Linked DNA regions of Homo sapiens: regions 1, 2 and 4 are each linked to region 3. The links are contacts of gene promoters, found by promoter capture Hi-C in blood cells and fetal thymus (Javierre and others, 2016). All regions are on one chromosome and are shown on one strand. The core of a region is centred on a gene start or on the middle of the fragment in contact, and the rest is flanking DNA. Distances in the headings are between cores, read along the strand shown. Region 1 overlaps NYX (nyctalopin). Region 2 overlaps DDX3X (DEAD-box helicase 3 X-linked). Region 3 holds the start of GPR82 (G protein-coupled receptor 82). Region 4 has its middle 15 kb from the start of LINC02601.

Region 1 (3,690 bases), core at 1,048-3,547, 260 kb before region 3:
TTCTTTTTTTTTTTTTTTAAAACAAGGTCTGGCTCTGTGGCCCAGGCAGGAATTCAGTGGCATGATCTCCACTTACTGCAACCTCTGTCTCCTGGGCTTAAGCGATCCTCCCACCTCAGCCTCCCAAGTAGCTGGGATTACAGGCACATGCCACCACACATAGTTAATTTTTGTGTAGAGACAGGGTTTTGCCATGTTGCCCAGGCTGGTCTCAAACTCCTGGGCTCAAGCGATCCACCCACCTCGGCCTCCAAAAGTGCTAGGATTACAGGCATGGGCCACTGTGCCCAGCCACTAATCCCATTCTTGATCATCCACTCTCCTGACCTAAGTACCTCTCAAAGTCTCCATCTCCTAATACCATCACTTTGGGGGTTAGGATTTCAACACATAAATTTGGAAGGCGGACATAAACATTCAGACCATAACTGTGATTATCTTTTACTGTTTTTTACTCTATGTAATATGTCTTTTTGTTTTGGATACTTTTAAGAATTTTCTATCTTTGGCTATGATGGGCCGTGCGTGTGTGTGTGTGTGTGTGTGTGTGTTTTATGTTACTTGGGGCTTGCTAAGCTTCTTGTTTTAATCAAATTTGGAAACTGTCATCAACTATCTTTTAGCCATATTCTGTATCTTCTCTCCTCTGAGACTCCACATACATGTATATTAGTCTAATTGCTTGATATTGTTCCACAGGTCATTGAGGCTCTGATAATTTTTCCCCCAGTCTTCTTTTTATTTTCTCTCTGTGCTTCACTTTGGTTAATAACTACTCGCCTCTCTTCAAGTTTATGAAGATTTTCTTCTGCAGTGTCTAATCTGCTATTTATCTTATTCAATAATTTTTAAAATTTCAGCTATTGTTTCAGTACTAAGATTTCTACTGGGTTCCTTTTTAGAGTTTCCATACCTCTTCTAAAATTCAGATTCCCCATGTCTTTGCCCATGATCCCTATCTTTTCCTGTAAATTCCTTAACATATTTATAGCAAATCTTTGCTTGGTAATTCCAACATGTGGGCTGTCTGAATCTGCTTCTGCTGTTTTTTTTTTCCTTCTTGACAAGTGTCATGTTTGCTGCTTCTTCACATGTCTACTAGTATTTGGTTGTACACTGGATACTGCGGAGCCAGTGGTAGAAACTCTGGATTCTCTTGTCTTCTGTTGAAGAGTGTAGAATTTTGTTCTGGCATTCAGTTAAATTACTGGCAGATCACCTTGTTCCCTGAAAGCCTTGGTTTTAGGCTTTTTAAGGGTAGGACTACTTGAGTTTTGCCTTTAGTCCTGGGAAATGGTCTTCACTCCTGAGGCATGGTCCTTTGGGGTTTCAGTGGAAAGCTCAAGGTATTTGACAAGCTCCTCTAACTTGGCAGACCTTGAACTCTTTTTTTTTTTTTTTTAAGATAGAGCCTTGCTCTGTTGCCCAGGCTGGAGTGCAGTGGCATGATCTCAGCTCACTGCAACCTCCACCTGTAGTCCCAGCTACCTGCCCCCCGAGTAGCTGGGACTACAGGTGCCTGTCACCACACCCAGCTATTTTTTTTTTTTTTTTGTATTTTTAGTAAAGATGAGGTTTTACCATGTTGGCTGGTCTCGAACTCCTGACCTCAAGTGATCTGCCTGCCTCGCCTTCCCAAAGTGCTGGGATTACAGGCGTGAACCACCACGCCCAGCTGGGACCTTGAACTCTTAAACTGCCTCCTGTCACTGGGCAATTGCTAAAATCTCTGTTTAGGTCTTTTGGTGTTTAGTTCTTGCTTTCCCCTTGGGCTCCCTGGAGTCATCCCACACATATGCCCTTCAGAACTCAGCCAAGGACATAAGGGGAACCTGTATACTAACTTTGTGGCTCCTCTTTTGAGGCTCCCTTTTTCCATGTTTTCCCTCCTCAATTTCCAGCCACTGTGGCAGCTATAAATGCTGACCTCTAAGCTGTCAGCTTGCTTTCTGCTTTAGCTTCACTCACCATGTGCTGTGTGGACTTGAAATTGCCCTGAGAGAGCCGGGCCCAGAGGCTCACGCCTGTGATCCCAGCACTTTGGGAGGCCGAGGCAGGAGGATCTCTTGAGGTCAGGAGTTCAAGACCAGCCTCGGCAACATAGTGATACCTTGTCTACATAAAATTAGCTGGGCATGGTGGTACATACTTGTAGTCCCAGCTACTTGGGAGGCTGAGGTGGGAGGATTACCCAAGCCCAGGGAGGTCAAGACTGTGGTGAACCGAGATTGCACCACCGCACTCCAGCCTGGGCAACGGAGAGAAGAGACCCTGTCTAAAAAAATAAAAAATAAAAAAAAAATCCTGAGAGGAAAAATCAGTTAGATGCACATCTCACCTAGTTTGTGTCTCTTCTTTGAAGGGTTGCATCGACTCTGATTGCCTGTTTTGGTTGTTCCCTGGTGCTTTAAAACAATTTTTTTTTTTTTTTGAGACAGAGTTTCGCTCTTGTAGCCCAGGCTGGAGTGTAATGGCGTGAACCTGGCTCACTGCAACCTCTGCCTCCCAGGTTCAAGCAATTTTCCTGCCTCAGCCTCTCGAGTAGCTGGGATTACAGGTGCCCGCCACCATGCCTGGCTAATTTTTTTTTTTTTTTGTAGTTTTAGTAGAGACAGGGTTTCGCCATGTTGGCCAGACTGGTCTTTTTTTTTTTTTTTTTTTTTTTTTGAGATGAATTTTCGCTCTTGTTGCCCAGGCTGGAGTGCAATGGTGTGATCTTGGCTCACTGCAACCTCCGCCTCACGAGTTCAAGAGATTTGCTTGCTTCAGCCTCCTAAGTAGCTGGGATTACAGGTGCCTGCCACCATGCCAGGCTAATTTTTGTTTGTTTGTAGTTTTAGTAGAGGCAGGGTTTCGCCATGTTGGCCAGACTGGTCTCGAACTCCTGACCTCCGGTGATCCACCCACCTCGGCCTCCCAAAGTGCTGGGATTACAGGTGTGAGCCACCACGCCCAGCTAAAACAATTTTTTTAAAAAAATTTTGTCCAGAGTCTACCATAGATAGCAGTGGGAATGTTAGTCTGATAGAAGCTACTCTGCCATGATTGCAGTAGAACTCATCCACATATATTATTATTAAAAGAATTTTTTTTTGGTGCCTTGCTTTTCTGGCTCACTAAACATGTACTTAGTCTTTATACTGAACAAACCAATACAGTTTTGCTGTCAGTTCTGAGAATTTACTTGACTTAATTTATTATTATTATTATTTATTATTTATTATTTTAGATGGAGTCTCACTGTGTCACTCAGGCTGGAGTACAGTGGCATGATCTTGGCTCACTGCAACCTCTGCCTCCCGGGTTCAAGCGATTCTTGTGCGTCAGCCTCCTGAGTAGCTGGGATTACAGGCGTGTGCCACTGCGTCTGGCTAATTTTTGTATTTTTAGTAGAGACGGGGTTTCACCATGTTGGCCAGGCTGGTCTCGAACTCCTGACCTCAGGTGATCTGTCTGCCTCTGCCTCCCAAAGTGCTGGAATTACAGTCATGAGCCACCGCGCCTGGAGACTTAATTTATTATTTTTTGGGAGGACAAGGTCTTGCTCTGTTGTCCAGGCTGGAGTTCAGTGGTCCAATCATAGCTCACTGTAATCTTGAACTCCTGGGCTCAAGTAATCTTCCTGCCTCAGCCTCCTGAGTAGCTGGGACTACAGGTGCACACCACTGTGCATGGCTAATTTTTTTATTT
Region 2 (2,500 bases), core at 1-2,500, 390 kb before region 3:
GTACTTAGTGATCAATCTAAAGCATCGTTGCCTTTTTTTTTTTTTTTTGGTTGAGATGGAGCTTTGCTCTTGTTGCCCAGGTTGGAGTGCAATGGTGTGATCTCGGCTCACCGCAGTCTCTGCCTCCGGGTTCAAGCGATTCTCCTGCCTCAGCCTCCCGAATAGCTGTGCCTTTCTGATAATAAAACATCAATGACTAGCTGGCTCTCTTGAGTAAAAGCAGCTAATCATTGGAAAGAACCTTATTATATCAAATTATCTCTAGAAGAGTTTTTGTCCATTATAAATCCTGAGCCCAGTTTAGAGGTGATGGGAATGTGTCCCTGTTAACTGACTATATTTATTAAATTGAATTAAGGGAATATGCATTTCATTGGTTATAGCTACTCCTTTCTCCTGAAGAACAGAAGACTATACTGAATTTTGGATTGGTGGTTAGGTTAGGTTTTCAAATGTGTCATTTCTTTTAAAAAGGCATTAGAAAAGTTGCTTTTTTTCTTCTAAGGGGGGTTATTTAGAGACTTGTTAGAGGTTAGTGTTAAGATAGGGGATCTTGGTGGTTTATTATAAGGGCAATAGACCCTTATTTTTAGCTCAGATCTCTTCCTACTTATTAAAACAAAAGTGAGTATGGGCTATGATGTGTCCTCATTTTTAGGCAAGAACAGCTTCACTGGGAACAAAACTTGGTGTTTGCTTTAACTTTCACCTTATTTGTCATGCTAAGAATCTTTTAGGAACTGATTGTCCTAGTAGAGATTTTTAAAAATATTTAATTCAGTCTAGAAGTGAAAAAGAAAAATGACACGTTTACTAGTTATAAAGCAAATTTATTTGGCTTTATGTTGTTTTTTTTGCTTATCCATATTCTAGGCTGTACTCCTGCTCGCATACAGAGCAACTGTCAACTTTCCTTAAACTCAGCAAGCCCCAAATTAAAACCTGCAATTCCTTGAAATTAACTCCCCTTTGCAGCTTTTCCTTGTTTATTTATTGTATGTTTTGCAACTTACTGGCATAGAAACAAAAGATTGTGAGATATGTTACATGAGTAATCTTAAATTGTTACAGTAATACTTAATGCTTTTGTTGACAGTTTTGATGACAGTTCTCTTAAATCTAGCAGGCCTTTAAAAAAATCACATTAAATGACCACTGGTGGCTAAATGTGCTCAATTTGTGGATTTCAACTATTAGGTTCCAAATCAGCTTTTTTTTATCAAACTCCTTTCAGAGTTCTCCTTATGAAGCAGTAACCCATTTAAAATTAGATTCTTATTTTTCCCCCCTCTCAGTGTCCAGGTAAGTAATCAGATTGGAAGGCTGGAGATTTTAATTTCCCAGAACCATTTTTTAGTAACAGAAATTTAAATGGGAAGGTTTTTTGGCATTTAATTAATTTTATATATATATATATTTTTTTAGAAGGGCGCTATATTCCTCCTCATTTAAGGAACCGAGAAGCTACTAAAGGTAGGTCCTCACAAGTAACTTCGTAGGTCTATTTTTTGCCTCCTTTAGAAGTTAGTAAAGCCTAAGGAAAACCAGGCATTTGGGGGAGGTCTAAACATGGTGTTGTTTTTCTATGCTTCTGTCAGCCTTGGTTCAAATACTAGAGCTTAATAATTTTGGAAGAACTCATCTAATGTTACGCAGTGGGAAATTCGGCATTCCTATGTCAAACTGTTCTGACGCCAAGGGCATGGTTTTGTACAGTTTCACTAGTGTTGTGCTGAATCTGTTTGTAATCATTCACAGCATGGTTTTAGTTTGGAAGAGGTGGGTGCCCTACTGTGTAAACCAAGCTGTATAATGATAACAACCTGGTTATTTCTGTCTTGGCAAAGTTGCTAGAAATGAAGATGGGCTTATTGTAGAACAGTTAACAAGTTACAGCGTTGGAAGTGATTCTCTGGTTTCATCTCCTTGCCTTGCTGCTTTTGAAAGGTTTTGTCCAAAATGTATTACAATATCTGGTGTCTTTTCCCATTGTAATTGTAACGTAGTGATAGATGACAGCTAGTATATGTTTCATATTATGAGACAGCTGTTCGGGTGCTTTATATTCTGTAAAATAGACCATCCAAAATTTGGAGGAAAAGGGAAAGTCAGGAAAACCAAAGATTAGGAGGGAAGATACTGTATAAAGAAGGCAGATAGGAAGAGTGGAGAGTCCACAGGGGAGCACATGGTTTGCTGCTGTTCCTCCATCTCCATATGTAGTCTGTATTACCTTCACTGTCCTGGCAATGCATGGATATAAAATCTGTATTATTTCTACCAGAAGATCACTTTGGCTTTTTTTTTTTTTTTTTTTTTTTGAGACGGAGCCTTGCTCTGCTGCGGAGGCTGGAGTGCAGTAGCGCGGGCTCACTGCAACCTCCGCCTCCTGGGTTCAAGTGATTCTCCTGCCTCAGCCTCCCAAGTAGCTGGGATCACAGGCATGTGCCACCATGCCCGGCTAATTTTTGTATATTTAGTAGAGACGGGGTTTTGCCTT
Region 3 (3,341 bases), core at 76-2,575:
AAATAGCATTCCATTTCTGTTCTTCTCTAAATTAATTAAAACTGTTTTTTGTTCTATGTAATTCCTTCCTGGAACATGATACATTACTGAAGTAAAAGTGATGGGAATTCTAAAAGCCAAACTACTCTGTAATGAACGGCCATGTAACCCTGGATGAGTCACTGTTCTTAAGTAAATGGTGGCAAGGCAAAGATGAACAGCAGCAGAACACAATCTGGACACTTTAGGCAGTTCTCACTTTTGTTTTGGAGAGAAATATTAGCAAACATCATAGAGAATTTATGAAATAAACATGAAATAAGGTAAGCATTGCGGGTTTATGAGAAATGGCAAGGTACTTCTGTAAATTTTAAGTGAAGATTTACTGATAACTAAAATGCTCAGGTTTGATGAAATTAGATTTCTGTTCTCTTTTTCAGACTCCCACTGGTTTAACTACTCAAGGATGAGAGGGAGTGCTTGATGCAAGTCTTCCTCCCCAGATGTACACACTTAGCTTTCATTTAGTTAGTAGGTCACAGACTGATTCGACAATCCTGAACAAAAAAATTGGTTTCACAATTCTATTTTTTATTTTTAAAATTTTTATTGTTTTAGACTAGTCATGGTTTCACAATTCTTTATAACTATTCATTTGATCTGAGGCATACTTGGCACTTCCCAGGATTTGCCAAATCCATTATGAAATGCCCCAAACAGTGTATTATGTTGACAAATGGAGATAGTGCAGGGCAATTAGAAACAGAGTGGGTTAACTCATTAGTAACCAAACTGGGACCCAACCCTGGGTGCAGTCTGTGCTTACAGTGAGTTCCTCTGGGCCTCAGCTTCTTCAACTTTAAAACAAAGGGTCTCAGTCCACAGATGATCATGAAGTTCTATTTTAGCTCTATAATATTTGATTCTAGTAAGTTATAAGAAAACTTTGAGTTTTGTTTCTATTTTTGATAAAGATGGATTGCAAATAAGCCATCCACAAACAATTTTACAAACGAGTTTGCACCAATATTTGTATTGGGTTACTACAGAGTGGCTCCTTCTATCACTGTGTCATATAAAACTGGCCATGGGGGATTAAACCTGTGAACTTAACTTCAGTCAATCGTGCAAACAAAGGTTACTGGAGTGTAACTAGTTCATGAAATAATCATAAGGAAGTATAATATGTATATTGTTCACCACTTCCTCCCACTACAGAAATAGAGAAATGAGGGTTTTTTGAGGAGGCAGTTGCCACATTGACCATAACTATTGAATTTCTTCAATATTCTGTTTAATTTCCCCTTTTCCTCCCACTGTAGTTGGTGTCATGCAAGAATCTATTCACACTGACTAAAGATATTGGAAGAGTGAAGATCAGAGAATTTTAAGTCTGAAATTTGGCATCACTGCCCTGAACAATATAACCTTAGTTGGCATAAACTACTCATACAGGTAAGAGTGATTATTATTCATTTTTAGCTTAAAAATTAAACTCTATAAAAATAAACAGGACCTAATGGTTTAAATTTTGAAAGCTGATCATTAAGAAAGGCAGTCAGCATATTAACTATGTAGACAGTCATTAGTAACTGAAGTTAAGAGTTGTAGAACTTTTTTCATTTGTCAAATTAGCAGAGACAAAATGTATGCATGAGTGACTTGAGATAGACATTCTCCTGAGGGGAATATAGACTTAGAGACATTTTCTGGAGACCAGTTTTGCATCTGTAACATGTAATTTTTATTTGATTTCTTAATAGTACTTTCCAAATTCTGGAAAATAGTTATCTAGTAGTTTTATGATCCAAGTTTATTTTTGAAGGAGATGTACATAGTAGATACAAGTTTGGGAAGGTAAAGATGGTGACCTAGTTGTTGACTGCTACACTGAGAGTCCTACAGAGACTCAACTTCTGTCTGATAAAGCTAGCCTCTGCAGAAGTCTATGTCCCTTTTGTTTGGAAGCATTTAATATTCATACAGAAGCACCATTACCTTTGCAGTTTTTAGTATACTATGCATTATCTGCACAAGGTAGGAGCTACTGCTTTTCTTTAACAGCATCATAAAAGGAAGCTCCAATCCTTATGTAAAATCAAAACCTACTGTGAGCAGATAATTTTTTCTTAAATAAACTGGCTCATTTCACTGTCTGACTGATTTTTGAACTGGTGAAGTTACAGATTAGGTTTTATATATTTATACCAGGGTCTACACTAACTGAAACCAGATTATAATTCATCAGGTTGCACTAGATTCAGATACAAACTTACAATGAAGCATATGGACTGTTTTCTAAATAAAAATAGCAAAGAAATAAAATTATAAAGACAGTGGTAAACATTAATTAAGAATCTTGTTATTTAAACCCACAGACACTGCACAGTCCTCAAGTTTTCAAGACTTTGGGTGTGGATTGGTTTAAAAAGTTATTATAAAATTATAATATCATATTTGAAAAAAAACCCCAATTTCTGTAATCCAAGATGCAGAAAATAAATCAAACCATAATTCTGAAGGGGGTAGAGAGTAAAATTGCCCTGAGGGGCTGGGGGGATATAAGAATTTCAAAGGGTTGTGTATGGTACAGTTTTTATGTTTATCAAAAGAGAACATGATTAAAAAGAAGATTGAGAAACCTTGCTCTAGATCATGAAAGAGTGGAGAATGTGGTGCTCAGAAGGCTATGGTGAAGAACACAGAGAATATGGCACATTCTGAATAGAGATCATGGTTCTTATTTGACCAGAATCCAGTAACTTTTGTTATTCTCACCTGAAAGAAGTGAGGAAATAAGGAGAAAAATAAGAATAAAAGCAGTTTGTATATGATTCTTCAGCACTTCATGTGTACCCTTTGAAGCGAGAAAGATTTAAATATAAGACAGAAAAAAGTAAAAACCAGCATTTATGTTGTGATTAAAACATCATATCCTTTAAAAAAAATCCTCTGAAAAACTCAGATAGCAAATTACACACAAGGACACTCTAACCAACAAGCATAGCAGCTACAGTTTTTTTTTGTTTGTTTTTGAGACAGGGTCTCTTTCTGTTACCCAGCCTGGAGTGCAGTAGAATGATCATAGCTCACTGCAGCCTTGAACTCCTAGGCTCAACTGATCCTCAAACCTCAGCCTCCCAAGTAGCTGGGACTCCAGGCACATGCCAGGATGCCTGGCTAATTTTTCTGTAGAGACATGGTTTCACCATGTTGCCCAGGCTGGCCTTGGCCTCCCAAAGTGCTGGGATAACAGGCATGAGCCAACATACCCGGTCTAGTTTTTGTATTTTTTATAGAGACAGGGTCTCGCTATGTTGTCCAGGGTGTTCTTGAAATCCTGGTCTCAAGCATTCCTCCCA
Region 4 (3,566 bases), core at 708-3,207, 460 kb before region 3:
CCTTGACCTCCTGGGCTGAATCGATCCTCCCACCTCAGCCTCCTGAGTAGCTGGGACTACAGGCACACACCACCGCGCCCAGCTAATTTTTTAATTTTTTTGTAGAGACAGGGTCTCCCTATGTTGCCCAGGTTGGTCTTGAACTCCTGGGCTCAAGCGGTCCCCCCACCTCGGTCTTCCAAGTAGCTAGGACCACAGACATGGCCAGCTAATTTTTTGATTTTTTGTAGAGATGGGGTCTTACTGTGTTACCCAGGCTGGTCTTGAACTCCTGGGCTCAAGCGATCCTTCTGCCTCCGCCTCTCAAAGTGCTGGGATTATAGGCATGAAGCCAAAACACCAACTGTTGATTTAGCTTTTGCTGCTGCCGGCTGGCAATCTGGGCTGAGCTCAGCTGATACACATGGCTCCCACCTGCATCTGCCAGACTGGCTGCGGATGGGCTGGTCTGGAGTGACCTCAGCTGGTCGGATCGTCGTTCGTCTGCCTGGTCCTGCATCCCCAGCAGGCTAGCCCACGTTTGTTCATAGGGAGGCGGCGGGGTTCCAGGAGAGTGAACAGAAATCGCAGAAATGCTCAAGGTCTCTTGCCATTGAGGCCTGGAGCAGGCACAATGTGAAGTATTCAACCGGTCAAAGCAAGTCCCAAGGCCAGCCCAGGCTCAAGGCCTGCACCTCTTGATTCAAAGAGCTACCCTGCATTGAGAAGGAGTGGGGGCACAGGAAGGGTAATTATTGTAAATAATGCATTGTAAATATTGTATTTTTTCTTTAAAAAGATTTTTTTTTTTTGAGACGAAGTCTTTCTGTCACCAGGCTGGAGTGCAGTGGCACAATCTTGGCTCACTGCAACCTCCGCCTCCTGGCTTCAAGCAATTCTCCTGCCTCAGCCTCCTGAGTAGCTGGGACTACAGGCGCATGCCACCATGCCCAGCTAATTTTTGTATTTTTAGTAGAGATGGGGTTTTACCATGTTGGCCAGGATGGTCTCGATCTCTTGACCTCATGATCTAACCACCTCGGCCTCCCAAAGTGCTGGGATTACAGGTGTGAGCCACCATGCCCGGCCTTAAAAAGATTTTCTTGTGATAAAATATACATAAAATTTGCCATTGTAACCATTTTTATGTATACAGTTCAGTGGCGTTAAGTACATTTTTAATGCCACTGAACTGTATCTAGCACACGATCATGGTTCACTGCAGCTTCAACCTCCTGGACTCAAGCAAATCCTCCCACCTCAGCCTCCCAAGTAGCTGGGACTACAAGCTAACACCACCATTACCGACGAATTTTTGTATTTTTTGTAGAGACAAGGTCTCCCTATGTTGCCCAGGCTGGTCTCGAACTCCTTGGCTCAAGCAATCCTCCCACCTTAGCCTCCCAAAGTGCTGGGATTATAAGCATGAGCCACTGTGCTCAGCTGCGGATGAGTTCTTGTTCACCTTCCTACAAGGCGCCATGTTTTCATCCCTCTGGAACCTCCCCATGCCCCATCTTCTTGGCCTTTTATGGAGACTTCATTGGATAGGCATGAAGCATGGACATCCATTTAGAAATGTGATTGGGCCGGGCATGGTGGCTCACGCCTGTAATCCTAGCACTTTGGGAGGCTGAAGCGGGTGGATCACCCGAGGTCAGGGATTCAAGACCAGCCTGGTCAACATGGTGAAACCCTGTCTCTACTAAAAATACAAAATTAGTCGGGCTTAGTGGCGTGTGCCTGTAATCCTAGCTACTCGGGAGGCTGAGGCAGGAGAATCACTTGAACCCAGGAGGCGGAGTTTGCCGTGAGCTGAGATCACTCCATTGCACTCCAGCCTGGGCGACAGAGCGAGACTCCGTCTCAAAAAAAAAAAAAAAAAAAAAGAAATGTGATTGGACAAAAAGGATATGATCTAAGCCTAGCAAGGCCTGTCTGTTCAGATTCTTCTTGGCCTCTCTGTGTGGCATTCCCTCCTCCCGGATATGGGGCGGGATCTCTTCTGAAATGGAGGTCTTATAACCTATGCTGAAGTCAAATAAAATATACAGATAAATCTGAAATTAAAACGTTTTATTTGGGAAGAAAGAATTGCAATTCAGAGCATATATGCAGACTGTCCGGTCTTCGGTATGTCTGAAGAACAAAGAGAAGGTTAGAGGTTTTATAGAAAGGGGAAATGTTTCATATTGCTCTTTGAGGAAGCTCATTGGCACTAGTAAGGTTTCAGAGAGCTGGCAAGCAAGCTCTGATTGGAGAGTGTTGGCAGTGGGTAGAACTAGTCTTAGAGTTGCAGCAGTTTGCTTCAGAAGCCATGAGATAAAACTGGTTTCAAGGCCAGGCATGGTGGCTTACACCTGTAATCTCAGCACTTTGGGAGGCTGAGGTGGGCGAATCACTTAAGGTCAGGGGTTCGAGACCATCCTGGCCAACATGGTGAAACCCTGTCACTACTAAAAGTACAAAAATTAGCCAGCCGTGGTGGCAGGCACCTGTAATCCCAGCTACTCGGGAGTCTGAGGCAGGAGAATAGCTTGAACCCAGGAGGTGGGGATTGCAGTGAGCCGAGATCAGGCCACTGCACTCCAGCCTGGGCGACAAAGTGAAACTCCATCTCAAAACAAAACGAAACAAAAAACAAAACAAAAAACTGGTTTCAGGTCATAGCAGGCAGTTTCAGCAGCCAGGCTTGCAGAGAATTACATTTTTGGAGCAATGTTATGTGCCCTGCCTGCTTCCCCCTGACCTCCTGACTCTGTTTCAGTTGGGTATGTCAAGAATGACCCAATTCGTATGATCTTTTCTTCTCTCCTTTCTTTTCTTTTCTTTTCTTTCTTTCTCTCTTTCTTTCTTCCTTCCTTTCTTTTCTTTCTCTCTTTTTCCTTCCTTTCCTTTCTCCTTTCCTTTCCTTACTCCTTTCCTTTCTCCTTTCCTTTCCTTTCTCCTTTCCTTTCCTTTCTCCTTTCCTTTCTCCTTTCCTTTCCCTTTCCCTTTCCTTTCCCTTCCTTTTCCCTTCCCTTCCCTTCCCTTCCCCTCCGCTCCCTTCCCCTTCCTTTTCCCTTCCCTTCCCTCCCCTCCCCTCCCCTCCCTTCCCTTTCTGTGTGTCTTGCTCTATTACCCAGGCTGGAAGACAGTGGTGCAATCATGGCTCACTGCAGCCTCCACCTCCTGAGCTCAAGCAATTCTTGGCCTCCCAAGTATCTAGGACTACAGGCACATGCCACCATGCCCAGCTATTTTTTTGTATTTTTTATAGAGGTGGGGTTTCACCTTGTTGCCCAGGCTGGTCTCAAATTCCTGGCCTTGAGTGATCCCTCAGCCTCTCAAAGTGCTGGGATTACAAGCATGAGCTACCACACCCAGCTGAAGTATGATCAACTTTTACACCTACAATCACACAAGATAGGCCAGATAATTTCTTTTTTTTTTCTTTTTTGAGACAGAATCTTGCTCTGTCACCAGGCTGGAGAGCCGTGGTGCGATCTCGGCTCACTGCAATCTCCGCCTCCTGAGTTCAAGCAATTCCCCTGCCTCAGCCTCCTGAGTAGCTGGGACTACAGGTGTGCACCACCACGCCCAGCTAA

Evidence for each region. The method cuts DNA at HindIII sites, captures the fragments that hold promoters and counts their contacts. A CHiCAGO score of 5 or more calls a contact.
Region 1: a contact is called between a fragment that was not itself captured here and the fragment with the promoter of GPR82 in region 3, in 1 of 17 cell types (neutrophils). The highest score is 7.7, in neutrophils.
Region 2: a contact is called between a fragment that was not itself captured here and the fragment with the promoter of GPR82 in region 3, in 1 of 17 cell types (neutrophils). The highest score is 5.7, in neutrophils.
Region 4: a contact is called between a fragment that was not itself captured here and the fragment with the promoter of GPR82 in region 3, in 1 of 17 cell types (neutrophils). The highest score is 6.8, in neutrophils.

What each region holds. Positions count from the first base shown.
Region 1 is chrX:41,464,146-41,467,835 of GRCh38, forward strand. All of the region lies in intron 2 of NYX (nyctalopin), which reads left to right. Among named protein-coding and RNA genes, the nearest start is that of NYX, 19 kb to the left of the region's middle. The HindIII fragment of the contact is 3,447 bases long and covers 575-3,690 here.
Region 2 is chrX:41,337,611-41,340,110 of GRCh38, forward strand. DDX3X (DEAD-box helicase 3 X-linked) reads left to right here. Exons shown (of 17, transcript NM_001356.5): 3 at 1,426-1,473. Among named protein-coding and RNA genes, the nearest start is that of DDX3X, 4.7 kb to the left of the region's middle. The HindIII fragment of the contact is 3,587 bases long and covers 1-2,500 here.
Region 3 is chrX:41,722,856-41,726,196 of GRCh38, forward strand. It overlaps GPR82 (G protein-coupled receptor 82), which reads left to right and starts at 1,326. Exons shown (of 3, transcript NM_080817.5): 1 at 1,326-1,434. All of the region lies in intron 5 of CASK (calcium/calmodulin dependent serine protein kinase), which reads right to left. The HindIII fragment of the contact is 20,979 bases long and covers 1-3,341 here.
Region 4 is chrX:41,259,262-41,262,827 of GRCh38, forward strand. No RefSeq gene overlaps it. Among named protein-coding and RNA genes, the nearest start is that of LINC02601, 15 kb to the right of the region's middle. The HindIII fragment of the contact is 4,129 bases long and covers 1-3,566 here.